Regions from separate parts of the Homo sapiens genome. Here region 1 is linked to region 2. Evidence: promoter capture Hi-C in 16 types of primary human blood cells and fetal thymus (Javierre and others, 2016). All regions are on one chromosome and are shown on one strand. Each heading gives the region's core, a stretch centred on a gene start or on the middle of the fragment in contact. The rest is flanking DNA. Distances are from core to core; before and after follow the strand shown. Region 1 has its middle 31 kb from the start of LINC02181. Region 2 holds the start of FOXC2 (forkhead box C2).

Region 1 (6,600 bases), core at 495-2,994, 520 kb after region 2:
AACTTGGACTCACATTCATGCATGAGTCCTTTTCCCATGCAGCATCCCCTTCTCTCCCCAGGAGAGGGATGGAGAACGAACTGGGAACACATTTTCATCACAGTTTCCCTGTTTGGTTTTAGAAATATCAAGACTTGATGAAATTGCATTTCCACAATTAGCTGTTGGAGTGGGAGACACCTACCCCATCCAATCACCAAAGTAATTTTTTCCTGTGTTAGAACAGAGAGGAACTTGGCTGGAGTCCACTCGGGGTGAGTGCAAGCTGGAAAATCCAGGTGGCTGAGGATTATATCCAGAGTTGCTTCTGACATGCCCCAATTTGGGTTTTGCTATAACATTCCGAAGGACATTTCAGAGTATATTCGTTATAGTCAAATGCACGCTGGTGTTTGCTCAATTTGCTTCCTTTACATTTTAGGTCCCATGGTATCCAAGAGAAATTCAATGCCAGCATTCAATTCCTTTCATGTAAATCATCAAATTTCCAGGCTGGACAGAGATCTGTTCAAGTCCTCTCCTTGACCCAGGTCCATGCTACCTTCAAAAAGAATTTCACCCCAGTCCAAATTCCAAAGGATAAGATTCAGCCAAGGGCCCTGGAGCCTTGCTGGGTTCTATGGGTTTGGAATTTGGATGAGGGTGCTGAGTCCACTTCCAGGGGGACTGAACCACTCTTCCTCTTCATACCAATGCAAACACCCTTTTGGCCACTGGCTCAGTCACCCTTTGATTTGGATAAAAAGGAAAAGTCCTGATTTCCCAGAAGGGAGCAGGTGGTCCCAGAGCATCCAAGCCCAAGGAAAAGGACTCATGCATGAATTTAAGTCCAAATTGGAGCCAGATTTACAGTGGCCAGGAGCATTCTGCTTGGCACGGACATCCACAGAGGCTGTGGATATCCGTGTGTCTCAGCAATGACTCACCTCACAGGCCCACCATGGAAGGGTCAGGCCAGAGAGAAGCGACTGAGCCACAGACTGTGCAGCCAGCTACTGCGATCAGAAAGAAAGAGCTTATATGTGCATGCAAGCCTGTTTACAACTCTGTACCAGGAAATGGCTTTTTAGTGGGCTAGCACATGCAGCCTCAGACATGACCTTCATTTGACTCTGGGGCTTCTGATTTAGCTCAGCTATAATGAAGGCTCCTGTGGCCAACACAGACCAAAACACAAGAGACTGCATCCAACACTGGATAGTCAAACTCCCCTGGCATATTTCCTCTGGCTCCCTGGGCTGGGAAGGAAAGAATCAGGAGTTCACCATTTTTCCCCATCCACCAACAACACCATCACCCAAAGCCTGCCCCTGGGCATCAGCAATTCTGCCTCTAACTGCTGAAAGTCAGCCAAGGGATCATCCCAAAATTCACATATCCAGATAATCATGACTAGACTGTTTCCCAGGGCTACTATGCTGCTAGAGTGAGGAAGCATACAACTCCCTAAATGTGAAATTCAATTGGCTACAGTAAAAGTCAATCACAAGGTATGCAATACCCACAGACCCCAGGCAACCCTGTTCCTAATCCTGCAGTCACTGAGGCCATGATTTACTGGGTTAATTTTGGGCTCCTGAATAGAGCGCTGCCAATTCATAGGAGGCACCCATCAGGGTGTTTACTTGGGAAAAAGAAAGAATTAATCAGTTGATGACAGGAGCAAAGAAGGAAAAGTTAAAAGACAGACATTCAGGAGTCATGCCTAACTGAGGTTAGGAGAAACAGAAACTCTGAGTGGGTAGAATCCAGGAGCTAAGAGGAGGTAGATGTGCACCTTCGCATCAACAGAAACCAGGAGATGAAAACAGCGTAATCTCTGTACCTTCTGCTCAATGTTGCCGTAAACCTAAAACAACCCTAAAACATTAAGTCTATTTAAAAACAAACAGGGAAGGCAGAGTGGACAAAATAGAAGGGGTTGACCTTCCCAGTCACTGAGGAAATGGTGGGATTAGAGCCCTCAGGAGGCAGAGTGGAGTTCTGAGACCCAAACCCAAGAGACTGAGCTCAATCACCATGGAGTGGAGATCTCAAGCCAGCTGAAGGGTGCAAGGAGATGTTGTCCCTCAGGCGCCCAAGGGTGCTCTCACCTTCTTCATTGGGTGTTCTCACCTGCTTCGTTGGGCCACATAAACCCCAAATGAAACCCTAAGTCCCAAACCAACTGAAAGGACACCCCCTCTTGGCCAAGAGGACCCCATAGCAACCTGAAAAACTAAATTCCAGGCCAGGCACAGTGGCTCACATCTGTAATCCTAGCACTTTGGGAGGCCAAGGAGGGCAGATTGCTACAGGAAAGGGGTCCCGATCCAGACCTCAGGAGAGGGTTCTTGGATCTCACTCAGTTCTTGGATTCAGGGCTTGTCCATCGAGTAAAGTGAAAGCAAGTTCATCAGGAAAGTAAAGGAATAAAAGAATGGCTACTCCATAGACAGAGCAGCCCCAAGGGTGGCTGGTTGCCTATTTTTATGGTTATCTCTTGATGATATACTCCACAATAGGTGGATTATTCCTGCCTCCCCTTTTTAGACCATGTATGGTAACCATCTGACATTACCACGGCATCTGTAAACTGTCATGACACTGGTGGGATGTAGCAGTGAGAATGATCAGAGTTCCATCCTTGGTCACACCATCTTGGTTTTGGTGGGTTTTAGCCAGCTCCTTTACTGCAACCTGTTTTTATCAGCAAGGTCTTTATGACCTGTATTTTGTGCTGATCTCCTATCTCACCTTGTGACTTGGAATGCCTTAACTGTTTGGGAATGCAGCCCAGTAGGTCTCAGCCTCATTTTAGCTAGCTTCTATTCAAGATGGAGTTGCTCTGGTTAACATGCTTCTGACAGGATCACTTGAGGTCAGGAGTTCAAGACCAGCCTGGCCAACATGGTGAAGCCCTGTCTCTACAAAAAATACAAAAATTAGCTGGCAGTGGTGCTGCACACCTGTCATCCCAGCTGCTCAGGGGGGCTGACGCGGGAGAACTGCTTGAACCTGCCAGCTGGAGGGTGCAGTGAGCTGAGATCGCACCACTGCACTCTAGCCTGGGGGACAGAATAAAACTCTGTCTCAAAAAAAAAAAAAGAAAAAAAAAAAAAACTGGAATCCAGGCCCTAACAGGAAGGGAGGTTGGATACACTTTGTTACACACCTCCCTTTTGGAGTTTAGGCACAACTGACCAGCATTAACATTAAAATAGAGATCGTGAGACAGACAAAACATATTCTTTGCGGCAATAACATATCAAATCCCAACATGATTCTAGTATAGCATCACATAACAGCAGAGCCTGAAGGAAATCAAAATATTTTGCCCCAAAATATATTTCCTTGACATATTTTATAATGGTCCTGCAACACAGTTATTTGTAGGGAAATTTTTGCATCTGTAGAGAATCTTCATTAATGCAGCCAGATCTTTATTGGATTTAAGAGAGATTAAGTAAAAGTCTAACACCTTTAGCACCTATTCTCTCTGAAGACTGCTACCCAGGAGGCATCAACTACATAACAAGAACCTTGGTCTCCACAACACCCCTTATCTGAACTTTCTACTGACTTTAAGTCTTTAGACAAAGCTTAACTCTTTCAACCAATTGCTAATCAGAAAATCTTTGAATCTACCTATGACCTGTAAGCCTCCCTGCTTTGCGATGTTCTACCTTTCTGGGCCAAACCAATATACACATTACACATACTGACTTATGTCTTTGCCTGTAACTTCTGTCTCCCTAAAATGTATAAAATTAAGCTGTAACCTGACCGCTTTGGGTACACTTTCTCAGGACCTACTGAGACCATCCTTCAGGCCATCGCCACTCATATTGGCTCAAAATAAACCCCTTTTCGTATTTTACAAAGTTGGCTTAAAAAAAAAAATTGAGACAGGGTCTTACTCCCATTGCCCAGGCTGAAGTGCAGTGGCATAATCTCAGCATACTATGGCCTCAACCTCTCGGGCTCAAGCAATCCTCCTCCCTCAACCAGTCTCCTGAGTAGCTAGGACTTCAGGCGTGCACCACCACACCCAGCTTTTGTTTGTTTTTTTTTTTTTTTTTTTTTTTTTTTTGTATTTTTTGTAGAGATAGGATCTCTCTATGTTGTTCAGGCTGGGTTCAAGCAATCCACCTGCCTCGGCCTCCAAAAGTGTGGGGATGATAGGTGTGAGCCACTGCACCTGGCCTGCTTTTTCTTTTTTCCTGTCAACAGCCATGAGGCCACTTGCAACCAGTGCCACATGTTCAGCCAAGTAGAAATGTGGGATCATTCCACACTTCGATGTTTAGCATATCTTTACAGGAGCACCTGCCTGGACAACAGTTCTGGTAGCAGTACTCTCTCCAAGAGAGGAACTCAGCGAGTTAGGATGGGGGCTAGATCCACCTCCTGGCTCCTTTTTCCTTCCTTTCTGTAAATCTTCCTCCCACACATCAAGCAATTCCTACTGACCCGAAAGATGAGGGAAACTGATAATTAACTGGCTCTAAGGGGCATTGCCTAAGAGGAGACACATAGAGAGGATCAGCCTCTAAAAGGGGCGCTTCAGACAGGATGACAGTCTGCACATGGGTGCATTTTAAAGCAAGGAACCATTCACAACTGCCATAAGCCTAACTAGTCCTCCTACAAAGTTAATTCAGCAAGGCAACTCCTTCAGGCCTTGGGACCAAGTTGGATCCCAAGAATGAACAGTGAAGATGTGTGTGGAAAATGGGAAAAGAGCCCATGCTGCTTCTGGACAGATGGGGTGGGCAGTTCCCTAGGCAAAGGATGAATTTAGATGGAGTTAGCATGAGGCTGGTTTTCTTGGTGTTGGGCCCTGATGTCTAATCCTCATAGCCTTCTGAAACGAACATACATCCATCCACATTTTGAAGAGGAGGAAACTAAGACTCAGTTATGGGATTTGCTGAAAGTTTAACAACTAGTGGTGAGTGGTTGAGTTGGGATTCAAATCTGAATAGTTTCAGGATCACAATGTTCTCCCACCTAAGAGCTATAACCATTTAGAATCAGTAAACTTTTATTAAAATTCTGGAAGAACGGTAAGTAACAAGCTCAATGTGCCGCGGTGGATTTTAAGAATATAAGAACTTAGGAGGAGTTGAACTCATTGGTAAGCTATTTCTGAATTTTCCAAGGCAAGTTTCTTTTTCACAAGGCTAATTCCTTTCCTCAAATTTTTCATCAAGATATTTTTCATCCAGCCCTCCTCTTTCAGGAATAGATCACCAGTTGGGTGTACATTGGTACAACTTATCTGTAGAGCATATTAGTAATGTGTATAAAGAACCTCAGAAAGGTTCCTACCATTTGATTGCCTGACCTCATAATTTACCATCCAAATAAGGACATTTTCAAAGATAAAAGGGAGCACTATGACTAATTATACCAGGACAACAGGAGAAAACAGAAACTATCGCAGGCAAACCTGTGGTATAGACAGCCTACTTTAGACCAAGTAAGCTAACACCCAGGACCCACTCTTAAAAAATCTATTTATCCATCCATCACTCATTCACTCATAAATATTAATTAAGCACCTACTATATGTCAAATTCAACACTTATGTTCAAGGACCATCATTACTGCATTGATTTTTAAGAGCAAATAAACTCTTATTTGTAAACAAATAAAACCCACGTGGTCAACAGCAGATACGGTTATAACACAAATAGTTATATTCTGGGGGATCCAGATGATGGAAGACTACGCAGGCCTTAAAAAACAAATTTTCTCCTAATGAATTAATCTGAAATATAAACAAAATATTAAAAGTATGAGACAACCATATGTTTGTCATGATCCCAATTTTATAAGAATATGTAAATATGTACATTTATGCATTAACATAGACTAAAATGGCACACAGCACATCAAAGAGGCAACGGTAGATCTCTCTGGATGACATCACTACGAGCGACCTTCTATTTTTTTCTGTGTATCTTTCTTTCTGAGTTTGGCATGAGAAACAGGACATTGAGTGTCTCTGGGAGCATCAAGAGAGCTGCTTGATGCAATGCAAGGAGCAGACTCTCCAACTCAGTCAGCCTTGAGTCTAAATCCTGGCCCCCTCATCTTTGAGCTATGTGACCTTCAGCAAGTGCCTTTGCCCCTCTGCATCTCTTTCTTTCTGAATTTGGCATGAGAAACAGGACACTGAGTGTCTCTGGGAGCATCGAGAGACCTGCTTGATGCAATGCAAGGAGCAGACTCTCCAACTCAGTCAGCCTTGAGTCTAAATTCTGGCCCCCTCATCTTTGAGCTATGTGACCTTGAGCAAGTGCCTTTGCCCCTCTGTACCTCTGTTCCCTAACGCACAGAACGGGAACAGTCATGGTGCCTCCTCAGCAGTCTGCTCGGAGGACTGTGGAGCAGCACTGGCCACGCCTCTCTCCCACCTGCCCTCATCCTAGTGCCGCCATCTTGGTCACATACTTTCTCAGATCCAGGCTTTTCATCTCATGGGAGAAGACGCCAAAGCTGAGGGAGTTGACATCCACAGTTCCTTCAGCATGAGAACTACAAGGCCTTTTGGTAATTCCAAAAATGATGTCTTCTTGCCAACAATGTTGGGCTCTGGGAGCCCTAATCCTG
Region 2 (6,380 bases), core at 3,771-6,270:
CAGATAAGCTCCTCAGAGAATGTGCCTTTTTTTTTTTTTTTACCATGAATTATTGTGATGAACTCCATAGCTATTGATGGTAGTTTTCCAGAAACTTCCAGTAAAGGAGGAGAGCAGACGCTGGACTAAGTTAGGCCCTCGCTAAACATTTTGCAAATTCCTTCCATGGAAATACCTTCCTTTACTGTCACATTTCTTTTCAAATTTTCACAGTAACAAAAGTGTTTTACTCCCATTTTTTATTTTGAAAAATTTCAAATTTACAGAATTGCAAGAACAATACAATCAATACCCAGGCACCACGGGTTCAACAACTGTTCTCATCTTACTACCTTTGCACGACCTTCTGCCCTCCTTCTCCCCTCTGACCCCACCTTGGTTGAATCTTTTGAATCTTCTCCTTCTTCTTCTTCTTTTTGAGACAGGGTCTTGCTCTGTCACCCAGGCAGGAATGTAGTGGTGCAATCATGGCTTACTGCAGCCTCAACCTCCCAGGCCCAAGTAATTCTCTGCCTCTGCCTCCCACATAGCTGGCACTACAGGTGCTCAGCACCACACCCGGCTTTTTTTTTTTTTTTTTTTTTTTTGTATTTTTTATAGAGATAGGGTCTCACTGTGTTGCCCAGGCTGGTCTTGAAACCCTGAGCTCAAGCGATCCTCCCACCTCAGCCTCCCAAACTGCTGGGATTACAGGCATGAGCCACCATGCCCGGCAGGGTGAATTTTTTAAAGGTTGCAGAGATGATGAATATCAGCCCCAAACATTTTGACACGTACCTTCTAAAAGCAAGGACATGCTCTTACTTGACCATGTATAATTATCGCACGCAAGAATCTTACCCTTGATTCAAGGTTATTATCTCATACACATCCCAGATGCAAATCTTCCCAAGTCTCCTCAAACCTGTCCTTGGTTGCTGTTTAAAATATCCCAGCACTTTGGGAGGCCGAGGCGGGCGAATCACGAGGTCAGGAGATCCAGACCATCCTGGCTAACACGGTGAAACCCCGTCTCTACTAAAAATACAAAAAATTAGCCGGGTGTGGTGGCGCACGCCTGTAGTCCCAGCTACTCGGGAGGCTGAGGCAGGAGAATGGCGTGAACCCGGGAGGCGGAGCCTGCAGTGAGCGGAGATCGTGCCACTGCACTCCAGCGTGGGCGACAGAGCAAGACTCCGTCTCAACAACAACAGGAAAAAAAGAAAAAAGAAAAAAAAATTTCTTCCGCCTAGGATTGAGGGTTGCGTTTACTTGTTGAGTTTCTTTAATCCTTGTGACCAACAGCAGTTCTCACTACCCACCCGCTTCTGTAGTCCTTTCTGGCCCTGCCCTTTGTCGATGGCGCAGCATGGCTTTCACTCACCGGAAAACTCACACACAGTAAAATGAGCTTGAACTGAGTTTTAGAAAAGACACTTTTTTTGTCCCACAAAAGTTTAGAAGCCGGATTACAATGGATTTTTAGGAGGTGGCGCCGACTTTGTGTAACCCAAGGGCTCCTCGGTTCTCAGGCAGCTTCTGGAAGCCTGGGACTCCTCTGCCACCCGATCCCTTTCCTCAAAACCAAGGCACCTCGTGACCCCAGAAAAGAAATGTTTGAAGGATATTGAAATGAATGAATGGGAAATAGTGAGACAAGAAACAAAACTCCTTTCACTTGTCCCCTCTTTGAGTTCTCTGTTGTACCTCAAAAGTAGAAGTGGCTGCTGCCCAGTTTCAAAGTCTGCCTCTTGTTCAAGCCAACCCTCTAAACACACGACCAGCACAAACAGCTTTCTGATGAATTCCCTGAAGCTCACGCCACACCTCGGGCAGAAAGACAGCTGCAGCGGGAAAACATGGACGAGGCAATTTGTTCAACAACTCCGGGGGAAGAAAATGCAGACTTCTAGCCACCTAAGAGGCATAGATTTTATTTGGGGAAAACCCCAGCAAGTTTCCCTAGAGAAAATTTCTTGCTCCCCGAGCAGTTTCAAAGACATTTTTGTTTCCCAACAGATCATGTTCTTGACACGTTGCGAAGTTACGGGAAATGTTTTTTAATCGACGCGATGCAGTTTATCTCCTTTCTCTGCTTTTACAGATTTCTGAAGGCTCCATTCCAGCCGTGCAATGCCCAGGAGTATCCACAAGGTGTCAGCACCTTCATGATAAGCAGGGCGGGCCGGGCGGTCTTTTTCTTTTTCCTTTTCTCGTAGTAGTTCCCTGGTTGGCCTCAAGATGACGCCAACACCCACGGAGTCCGCCCAGCCGCTCCAGGTGCAGCGGCCACGGGCCGGGAGGAGCGCAGCGCGGTGGGGGCGGAAGGCGAATTAAATACCTTTAGGCTTTATCGCCGCTTATTATTCCAGGAACACGCGAGGCCCTCTGGGACCCGATTCCGCGTTCGGCTCACTGACTTACAAGGTCAAGAAGGGGGAAAATCAGCCAGAAAGTAGCAGCCCCCCATCCGAAATACCCTGGCAGGTTAAAGAAAAGCTGGGAAATACGGTTTTTGCAAAGTCCAGGTGTATGGAAGGCGTTGTTTTAATAACCTGAACAAACATCTTTCCCGGAGTCCCACTGAGCAAACAAGAAACCTAATTCCAGGGGTAAAGGGAAGTGTCTCTCTCACCTTTTCTGTCTTGATGAGACGAATTTCTTTCCCCTCCCCTTTTCCTTTCTTTGGGGCGGGGGAGGGTGGATAATATATTGGGCGACTCGATTTAGGTGTTTGTTTGTTTGTTTGTTTGTTTCCCCAGATGACATTGGTTTAAACCGGGACACCCTTGTGAATACAAACGTAGGCAGCAACTGCCATTTTGGAATTTATTTTTTCATAGTCCTTAGCTATTTTAGGTTTTGCTGTGATAAAGCTGTTTCTCTCTCTCTCTCTCTCTCACACACACACACACACCCCTCGTAAAAGCAGAGTAAATAATATTCCTCCAGGAAGCCTACAGGCTGAGGAGTGTTTCTTGATCAATAGTTTGCATTTCCAGTAAAATCGTGACACGAACTCAGTGTGCCTGTCATGCGCTGCAGGAGAAGGGCACTTTTTGCTAGTCCTTTTTTTTTTTTAAGCTAGATGCGGAAATACTAGCTTATTAAAAATAATAAAGTCATGGTGGGAGTTTAGGGTTGGGGCAGAAAGCTCAAATCATTTGCCTGTGAGCTGAGAACTGGGCAGCTTTATTTTACTTTGTTTCAAAGAAAGAAGAAAAAGGATCAGGTTAGAAAAAGAGCCCAGAATACTCATAAAAACAATGTTTCAGAAGTGGAATATTCAAGGTAAAGGAACCTGATTTGTAGCTTCCCTTTGGCTTTGAATTGATCAGGAGACAAAGATAATGCATCTACATTTTCGTCTTCTGTTCTTTTATTGGAAATAAGTGGCACGCCCCATTGCCTTCTAGTCGCCTCCCCGAAGCGAAGAGGCCGAAGCGAAGAGGCCTGGTGGGTTGTCTCAACATCCTTTTGCTGAGAATCGAATACGCAGCCGATGAACAGCCAGGAAGGGTGCAAGGAAACCTGAAATACAAATGTTCTCCCTGAAGCCCTCTTCCCTGCCCAACCAGACCAGCAACTTCCAAAATTCTGCCCGTGTTTAGCCTTGTTAAAGGGGTGTCTCACTCCTTCAGGGAAAGTGGGAAAAGGGGATCTGATTATTGAGGTGTGGAAGGAATAAATAATCAGTCCACAAATAAACAAACTGTCCGGGATTCCTAGAGGGAAGGAGAAATCCTTGAAGGAGATCCAAGTCGCTCCAGGTCTGCCTGCCGAATAATATCATCCCGAAGGGATCTTGAACCGTTTGCAATCAACCGCTCACCCAGTCTTCCCACGGAGCGCGCTCCCTAACTCACCCTACCCACCCAACAAAACAAAAAAAAGGCTGAAATATAGAAAAGCAACTTGGAGGCTCCCAGGGGGACGTTGCCAGGAGCAGGAGGCAGGGACAGCGCCCTAGGGTCGGTGTTAGCGGCCGGCGCCGGCCTGGGCCACGGGAAACGTCCACGCTTGGTGCCCGCGGTGCGCGGCGCTCATTGCGCGCGCCTTCGAGCCAAGCCCCCGCGGAAAACAGGCTCGGGTTTCTCCTCGCAGGGCCCAGGAACTCGGCTCTGCCTGGCCCGGGTGGGTCGCTGCATTGTCCCGGTCTTCTGGGAGTGCGGGGTCAGCTTGTTAGAGGGAATTTCTACCTGGGAAAAGGGAGACGAGTTTCGAAGCTGAAGTTGGTAGGCTGCGAGTGTCCACGCGGGAGACGAAAGGGGGAAATAGCAGAGTCACTTCACCCTTTTCCCCAAACCCCACAAAACTGCTCGCAGCGACGCGGATGATCTACCGAATTCCCCGCGAATTCGGAGGATTAAGTTGTCAGTCAGCACGTTGCTACCTTCCCCTCTATGCACTCCGCTGCCTGGCTCCTCGGCGGGGAGCGAGGGAAACTCAGTTTGTAGGGTTTACCTCTAAAACCTCGATAGGTTATCCTTGACGACCCCGAGCCTGGAAACTCCCTGTTGATGATTAATTATTTGATTAAATAAGTATAACATCCAGGAGAGGCCCTGCCATTCCAATCCAGCGCGTTTGCTTTGAATCCATTACACCTGGGCCCCCATAATTAGGAAATCTAATTATTCGCTTCATCACTCATTAATAAGAAAAATGTCCCAGGATCATTGCTACTTACAAGGTCTTTGGGAGAGATATTTTACTCTATTAATCCATTCTATTTTATATTTCAAATTGATTTTTTTTAACAGAGGAAAGTGGCTATCTTTTTGTTTTGGGCATGTGGGCCCATTCACCAAAATGTGATCATAAAATAAATTTTAATAAGATATAACTTTTTAAAAAGTTTTCAAGTGAAGACGGAGTCGCCGCGGAGGCCGGGGCGGCGGGGTCTTAGAGCCGACGGATTCCTGCGCTCCTCGCCCCGATTGGCGCCGACTCCTCTCAGCTGCCGGGTGATTGGCTCAAAGTTCCGGGAGGGGGCGTGGCCCGAGGAAAGTAAAAACTCGCTTTCAGCAAGAAGACTTTTGAAACTTTTCCCAATCCCTAAAAGGGACTTGGCCTCTTTTTCTGGGCTCAGCGGGGCAGCCGCTCGGACCCCGGCGCGCTGACCCTCGGGGCTGCCGATTCGCTGGGGGCTTGGAGAGCCTCCTGCGCCCCTCCTCGCGCGGGCCGAGGGTCCACCTGGGTCCCCAGGCCGCGGCGTCTCCGCTGGGTCCGCGGCCGCCCGCCTGCCCGCGCTGCCGCCGCCGGGTCCTGGAGCCAGCGAGGAGCGGGGCCGGCGCTGCGCTTGCCCGGGGCGCGCCCTCCAGGATGCCGATCCGCCCGGTCCGCTGAAAGCGCGCGCCCCTGCTCGGCCCGAGCGCCGCCGCCCGCGCACCCTCGCCCCGGAGGCTGCCAGGAGCCCGGGGCCGCCCCTCCCGCTCCCCTCCTCTCCCCCTCTGGCTCTCTCGCGCTCTCTCGCTCTCAGGGCCCCCCTCGCTCCCCCGGCCGCAGTCCGTGCGCGAGGGCGCCGGCGAGCCGTCTCGGAAGCAGCATGCAGGCGCGCTACTCCGTGTCCGACCCCAACGCCCTGGGAGTGGTGCCCTACCTGAGCGAGCAGAATTACTACCGGGCTGCGGGCAGCTACGGCGGCATGGCCAGCCCCATGGGCGTCTATTCCGGCCACCCGGAGCAGTACAGCGCGGGGATGGGCCGCTCCTACGCGCCCTACCACCACCACCAGCCCGCGGCGCCTAAGGACCTGGTGAAGCCGCCCTACAGCTACATCGCGCTCATCACCATGGCCATCCAGAACGCGCCCGAGAAGAAGATCACCTTGAACGGCATCTACCAGTTCATCATGGACCGCTTCCCCTTCTACCGGGAGAACAAGCAGGGCTGGCAGAACAGCATCCGCCACAACCTCTCGCTCAACGAGTGCTTCGTCAAGGTGCCCCGCGACGACAAGAAGCCCGGCAAGGGCAGTTACTGGACCCTGGACCCGGACTCCTACAACATGTTCGAGAACGGCAGCTTCCTGCGGCGCCGGCGGCGCTTCAAAAAGAAGGACGTGTCCAAGGAGAAGGAGGAGCGGGCCCACCTCAAGGAGCCGCCCCCGGCGGCGTCCAAGGGCGCCCCGGCCACCCCCCACCTAGCGGACGCCCCCAAGGAGGCCGAGAAGAAGGTGGTGATCAAGAGCGAGGCGGCGTCCCCGGCGCTGCCGGTCATCACCAAGGTGGAGACGCTGAGCCCCGAGAGCGCGCTGCAGGGCAGCCCGCGCAGCGCGGCCTCCACGCCCGCCGGCTCCCCCGACGGCTCGCTGCCGGAGCACCACGCCGCGGCGCCCAACGGGCTGCCTGGCTTCAGCGTGGAGAACATCATGACCCTGCGAACGTCGCCGCCGGGCG

Evidence for each region. Contacts are between HindIII fragments. The CHiCAGO score rates a contact against its expected background, and 5 or more counts as called.
Region 1: a fragment that was not itself captured here is called in contact with the fragment with the promoter of FOXC2 in region 2 in 8 of 17 cell types (M0 macrophages, M1 macrophages, M2 macrophages and 5 more); the score reaches 21.7 in M0 macrophages.

What each region holds. Positions count from the first base shown.
Region 1 is chr16:87,085,396-87,091,995 of GRCh38, forward strand. No RefSeq gene overlaps it. Among named protein-coding and RNA genes, the nearest start is that of LINC02181, 31 kb to the left of the region's middle. RefSeq lists an enhancer at 3,125-3,774. The HindIII fragment of the contact is 3,669 bases long and covers 1-3,579 here.
Region 2 is chr16:86,561,809-86,568,188 of GRCh38, forward strand. It overlaps FOXC2 (forkhead box C2), which reads left to right and starts at 5,021. Exons shown (of 1, transcript NM_005251.3): 1 at 5,021-6,380. The coding sequence starts at 5,528. FOXC2-AS1 (FOXC2 antisense RNA 1) reads right to left here and starts at 5,953. Exons shown (of 2, transcript NR_125795.1): 1 at 5,809-5,953; 2 at 3,337-3,510. RefSeq lists enhancers at 5,156-5,740, 5,741-6,324. The HindIII fragment of the contact is 11,287 bases long and covers 1-6,380 here.